Linked DNA regions of Homo sapiens: region 2 is linked to region 1. The links are contacts of gene promoters, found by promoter capture Hi-C in blood cells and fetal thymus (Javierre and others, 2016). All regions are on one chromosome and are shown on one strand. The core of a region is centred on a gene start or on the middle of the fragment in contact, and the rest is flanking DNA. Distances in the headings are between cores, read along the strand shown. Region 1 holds the start of COBLL1 (cordon-bleu WH2 repeat protein like 1). Region 2 holds the start of SLC38A11 (solute carrier family 38 member 11).

Region 1 (3,270 bases), core at 442-2,941:
ACTCTTAAATCAGGAAAACTGTACAAGTCTCATTCATTAGTGACAACGTCGATTTTTCCTTAACGTTTCTATTTCTGGAATGCTCGTATTCTCATTAGGGCATTTCTGCATTCAGATTAACTAAGAAAATAAACTATGTTGGAGGAACACTTATGCTGGGGGGAAAAATCTTGTACTACATCAAACGAGTTTCCTACTTGAGAAACTCAACTAGCATCCAGGTTACTCCTGAACTATTTACTAAGACCAAGGTTATTTTCAGGTTTTCTTCATCTCTTGCAGAACTACCTGTTCTCATTACTGTTTACTCAAACGCTTAACAAGGTAACTATTAGCATATCTGGCAGGAAGACATGCCTCATTTAATATTAACTCACCATGTGACAGCCCCCTTCCTCTCTTCTCAAACATGTGAGGATAAAAAGAAAAGTAGAGTTGTTTGCAATCTGATTTGCGCTGGGTTTTGGAACCAGCAATTGGCCACAGGCACACACACCCCCAATCAGAGGCGCGCACCCCGCTCGCTCCCGGAACTGTCATGCGGGCTGACAGCTGGCACACCCTCCTGTCGCCCTCCACCCGCCTGCAGAAAGCCCACTCCCTACAGTCACCTTGACATTGCTCACCTGCCTGGGCCTCAGCCCATGACCAAGGAAACTTTTGCCCTCCCTCCCCAGGAGCTCACTTACAGGTATCGTCCACCGCTCCCCCAGAGCCCAAACAAGGGTCCCTTTGTTACAATTTTTGCTCCCGGACTCCTCACCCAATTCCTGGCATTCAGCTGGCCTGTAGCAACCCAGGGCAGCCCCGGTAGGAAGGCAACCAAAAACGACCCGAGCCCTCCGCCCGGGCGGCCTCCGAGAAGGCCGGGAGGAAGCAGCCTCCCCGGCCGCGTGGAGGACAGTCAGTGAGTCAGGCCGCCGGCAGGGCAGCGAGTTGCCAGCCAGGTGAAACGGCCGAGGCCTCGCTGTCCTCGCCGGCCTCGCCCTCCCCGGTGAGAGGCGGCGCGGCGCTCTGGGCTTACCTGGCTGGGGCGTCCTGCGGGCGCGGGGTTCGGCCGTCCATCGCCCTGCGGGGCGCTGCGCGGGCTCCAGCTCCCAGGCGGCGCGTCACTGCTGGGGTGGGAGAGGCCGGCGGGTCAGGGCGGGACGCGCGCCTTCCCGAGGCCGGAGCGAAGCTGGCTGAGCGTCAAGAGCCCGCCCGAGCCGCTCCAGCCCCGGCCGGCCCGCCTCCCGGGTGCGCTTCCACCTGCGGGCCCCGGCTCCCAGCCCGCGGGCGCCGCCGCCGTCTCTACAAGGTCTAGCGGGCGCCCAGAGCACGGCGGAGGAGGCGGTGGCGCTGCAGCCCCCGCCCCGTGGGGTTTACTGGGTAGCCATTTGGCGCCTCTCGGAGGGAGAGGAGCCGCCGGGGCTGGAAAAGGAGGAGGAGCGGGGCCGGGCGCACGGGCACCGCTGCCACGCCGGCAGCGCACTCCCAGGCTCCTCCGGCCGAGTTTGCACAAACAAAACGCCCTAGGAAAACTTTTCCCGAAGAGAAGTTGGGAGGGCTGATCTCTCTTTTCCCACCCAAGGCTCCTACGTTCTTTTCCAAAGGAGACAGTAGCTCGCCTGTTCTCCCTCGCGGCTTCCTCTCCTACTCTTCCCTTCCCCGGCCCGCGCTCTTGCCGCTCGGCTCTCAAGCCAGGACTTGAATGGAGAAGCGGCAACCCCTGCGAGGCTCAGCCCAGCGCGGGCAGGGCCGACTCAGCACCTCCCCTGTCCCGCGGGCGGGGTGCGGGCGCTGGCTGGGCGCTGGGGGCCTCGCTGGAGCCCGCTCTCTCACTCACCCTGCCCCATTTCCCTGCCCGGAGTCCGGGAGCTCGCCGCCGCCTCTGCAGCACGGCCGCACATAAGTGGGGACCAGCTCGGCGGCATTGGAGCGAGGGAAGCAGCGAGCCGGAGAGAGGAACGGGGCGGGGGTGGGCCGGGAGCAAGTTGGAATTTCCTTCCCCCAGGGCTTCGGGTCTTTGGGGTCCGGCTGGGGAAGCTGAACCGAAAGAAAGCTCCCAGACGAGGTGTTCCCATTCCCACCGCTAGGCTGCGCTTCGGGAAGGCTGGTGCGCCTGAACCGGACAGGTGCGGGGGAAGGGAGGTTACCTGCCTTGCCAGGATCCGCGGGGAGGATTGGGGCCTCCGCGGAATGCGGTCAGAAACTCGCAGAGTGGGGCCTGCAGCTTGCCCCCCCTAGAGTCCGACCCTCGACGTCCAGGATCGTTTTTTTAAATTTGTGTTTTTAACTTGACCTTTAAGATTGCCATTCTTTTAAAAGCGCACCTGTGACACAGATCTTTCTAATTGGTGGCAGGTTTAAGCTTGCCCTGTCTTCAGAGGCATTTTTTGTAAAAGCCTATAACAGCTCTGACATGAGAACTGGACAACAGTATGTCTAATGACAGTCTATAAACTAAGAATTAAGTAATAGATTGTATTCACTTATTGGAACTTTTACAAGGGTAAAGGAATCAGACACAGCTGTGTGCTTGTTTGTACGTTTTAGTATCCACGTGCATGCCCTTTAGATGATTCTTTACACCTGACAGACAGGTACTAGGTTGGTGCAAAAGTAACTGCGGTTTTTGCCATTTTTTTTTTTTTTAAAAAGTAATGACAAAACCGCAATTACTTTTGCACCACCCTAATATATTTACATATTTTATATTTTTCATAAGCGCCAATTGTTTTAAGATGCGCGCCATTCTGATGGGCCCAAAAATGTGTTTTCAGAAAACAACGTGACATTAAGAAATGAATTTAAAATTAGAGTTTTAAAAACATATTTGGATTAAACTGATGGAGAGATCTTACAGGAAGGAACATCCTGCAGGGGACTTCTGTTGTAGCACTAACATCAAGTAATAAACCTGTGTTAGCCACTGATAGAATAACATTTGGCAGGTATTACAATTAAATTGATATTAATGCTCCTTTAGTTGGTTATCCATTGCAGCAACAAAAAAAGATTGCTGAACTAAATGCCTAGCAATGTGCCATTTGTCTACCACACGCAGGCATTGGTATTTATTTCTTTCAGTGCATAATGTCCTTTCAGTGCATCTTAAATATGAAAAGAAAAAAACACATGGCTCATTTGGATTACAATACTGGAACCATATTAGAAAAAGTTGCTTTTAGAGATTTTAACTAAGAGTAAAGCAATTTATTTAAATACCTCTGGGTTTTAGTCTTTAAACAATAACTCTGTTTAAACAATTTCATGAATCATTTATGCTTC
Region 2 (3,270 bases), core at 534-3,033, 110 kb after region 1:
GATAAATGTTTAATTTTCAGAAGGTGATGACAGAAACAAAAATGTTGCAACTTTATAAAACATTGTATTCTCAAAAAGTATTGCATTTTGCAGGATTTTGTTTTCTTCTTGTCTTTTCTGAGATAGAGTGTTTTCAGATACCAAAAAGAATAATAACCACTGAAAATATAGCTGCTTTTATTACTATAATGCAATGCACTTTTAACTTTTTTCAGTAAATTTCCCTTGCTTCTAATACAATGGAAAAATCTGAGCTATTTATTTATTTTAATTCTGATTGTATGGCTCCTTTATTAGGAAAATAATACGCATTTTCAATGAACAAATTTGCATTGTTGACTAAATAATATTTAAAATTAATATATTGTAATAATTTTGTACTTTAAAATTTAACACTGTATAGATAGGTAAAGAATGTATGAATTTAATTTTTCATAAGATTGGTATGTTTTCATATTAAACTTTTCACCTCCAACATTTACAAATATCTGGAAGTTTTATACTTCTAGAAAGTTAAAGAAAGATGATTCAAATAATGATGGACCCTTCAGTAAGTGGAAAAAGTACATTCGGTAACACTAGCAATCAACCACGCAGCCTACAGAAAAATGATTCACCACCACCCATATGCAGTTTCACCTTAATCTACCACATGTGGAAGATGCTCTCAACTGTGGAAACAGTGTGAATTACAGCCCCATCTTCAGCATAAAAGACATGCATACATACTGTTACACTAGAAAAAAAGGAAGCCTTTTATGGAAGAAAATTACCAATTTTCTTATTTAAGTCTTTTTTTCTTTAAAAATAATTAATGAACACTAGCAGCGTAGCGAGTCTTAAATTTTGCCCTTTCACTTAAAATTTAAACCAAAGCAAATACACTTACCTATTATACCAGATCCTATAATCGAGTTGACAACATTAAAAAGAGCAGCAGACTGACAGGTTTTCTCTTTATACTCATGTTCAGAAACAAGGGTTTCTCTGTCATCTAAATCTCTCTAATAGATAAAATAGCAATTATAAGCAAATACTAGTTCAGAAAATTAGAAAAGTAACAAATATGTAATGCAGGATACTAACACGATTTTCTAGTAATAATAAGTAATGTCACTAATGAAAATAAAATAAATGCCGGGATAACAGTAATAAAGAATAACAATAACAGCTAGTAATTCAACAGAGCTTGGTAAGCAAACTCCATCCTAAAATTTCCAGATTACAGCTGCCCCAGCTGCTAAGTACAGGATCTGTTAGGAATTCAGTGATGTGATTTTGTGAAATTAAAGTGCCTGCTAAGAAAAAAAAAAAAAAAAGTCAGATTAAGGCAAAACTTTTTGTCCCAGAGAACTTTTCGCGGTGCTAAACCAAGAGCCCAGGTGAAGGTAGGTGACCTGACCTGTTGCAAGGTGAATGAAATTTCCGGACAACTGGCTTCAGAACCTGCCTAGTCGCTAGTTTTACCTGCGGCGGGATGACAGGCTCCTGCCTCTGGTAGCCCATGGCTGAGCGGTGGTCCTCAGCAGGTGGAAGATGCTGGGGCTGGGTACGGATTCGCACCCGGCCAGCCTCCTCCGCCACCTCGCACACAGCCGAGGTCCGCGTGTAGCCGCAGAGCTGCAGGGAGCCAGTTCCACGGGCGCCCCCTGCTCCCTCGGCAGGCCGCGAGGGCTGCAGCCCCAAGATCTCTAGGCTGTGGCAGCCTGGGGCGCTTTTCCACCGGAGTTCGCCCAGACAAATGTATTTTTCCTCCGGAGACGGAGATGCTGCAGGATGTTTCTGATCCGGGCAGCCCTGTCTCCCCGCCTCCCCCCTTCACACCCCCGCCTCCCTGAGAGAACAGGGAGAGCTACTCTTCCCTGGAGCTGCAGAGGACAACTTGTTCCACCCACGCTGCCCTGCCCCGATCTCACAGAGTTATGACCGCCTCGTTGCAGTCCGTTCCTAAGTTAGCTTCTCCTTTGCTGGGGTCTGAAGCCCAGGTAAGAACGCAGAAGCACCCTTGGGCCCATGGGCCATCTTCCCTATTAGCACCTCCTCCTCGCTACCCCTCTTCAATGGCAGAGACGACGAGTGAAAATTTGGGACTTTTATTGTAAATGGAAATGGAAAGACTCATAAGAAAATGAATAGCAAAACAAAAAACTTTCCTAGGGTTTTAGCAAACTTGACTACTGAGCATGCTTTGGTCAAACGCTTCCTGGTAACTTTTAGAAAAAGGAGCGATAGAGAAAATGAAGGTGGATTGTTACTGCATTCAGGTAATGAACCTTGAAAAGGGAAAGAGGAGTACAAGGGTTTGGGAAAGGGGTGGCACCTACAGTGCCTGAGCTAGAAAGAATCTTCAATGACCACCTATTCAGTCCTCTTACATTACAGATGAAGCAACAAGCCCAGAGAGTATTCAATATCAGAGACAGAATGCATGAGACAACAGTTTCAGGGGCAATAAGAGCGGTGATATGCCATCATACTTAACAAATTCTGCCTTCCCTTGATATCCATAGGGGATTGGTTCTGGAACCCCTGCAGATACTGAAATCCAGGAATGCTCAGGTCCTTGATAGTAAACAGCATGGTATTTACATGTAACCTAGGCACATCCTCCAGCATACTTTAAATCATCTCTAGATTATTTATAATACCTAATACAATGTAAATGCTATTTACTTGTTGTTATACTGTATTGTTTAGGAAATAAGAAAAAAGTCCATATGTGTTCAGTATAGACACATCCATCCTAGCCCTAACTACATTTTTGATCTGGGATTGGTTTAATGCATGGATGCAGAAGTGGGGATATAGAGGCCAACTGTACCTAATTAAAGAGGTTCTGTTTCATACATGTTTACTTATAATTAAGAAAAAAAATTAAAAACCGTGGGAAAACAAAAGACTTATAAACTTTATATACACTCTGCCATCAAATGTTAACATGCTGTCATATTTTCTTCAAATTGTAAAAGTAAACACAATGTCACAATAGGAACCCCCTTGACCTTCTCCATTCCTTTCCCCAGGCCTTCAGCCCTGGAGTCATCGGTTCATCAAGTTAGTGTTATCTTTGCTATTCATACTTTGTATTTTAATCCGTTCATTTATAGCCATAAACAATATATAACATTGGCTTTTGTATTTTCAACATTTACAAAGATGGTGCCATATTGTACATGTTATTTTTCCACTGGCATTTTTGTTTTCAGCATGTATGATGTAGATATATGCAGATTTTTTTTTCATTTTATCTAACAGTTAAGTCAGCCTTCC

Evidence for each region. Contacts are between HindIII fragments. The CHiCAGO score rates a contact against its expected background, and 5 or more counts as called.
Region 2: a contact is called between the fragment with the promoter of SLC38A11 here and the fragment with the promoter of COBLL1 in region 1, in 1 of 17 cell types (total B cells). The highest score is 5.0, in total B cells.

Annotation. Positions count from the first base shown.
Region 1 is chr2:164,840,132-164,843,401 of GRCh38, forward strand. It overlaps COBLL1 (cordon-bleu WH2 repeat protein like 1), which reads right to left and starts at 1,692. Exons shown (of 14, transcript NM_001365672.2): 1 at 1,579-1,692; 2 at 1,025-1,115. The coding sequence starts at 1,065. LOC101929633 (a long non-coding RNA gene) reads left to right here and starts at 618. Exons shown (of 2, transcript NR_110574.1): 1 at 618-691. RefSeq lists a silencer at 1,666-1,875. The HindIII fragment of the contact is 5,265 bases long and covers 1-2,348 here.
Region 2 is chr2:164,953,742-164,957,011 of GRCh38, forward strand. SLC38A11 (solute carrier family 38 member 11) reads right to left here and starts at 1,784. Exons shown (of 12, transcript NM_001351537.2): 1 at 1,468-1,784; 2 at 890-1,004. The coding sequence starts at 1,506. The HindIII fragment of the contact is 8,780 bases long and covers 1-3,270 here.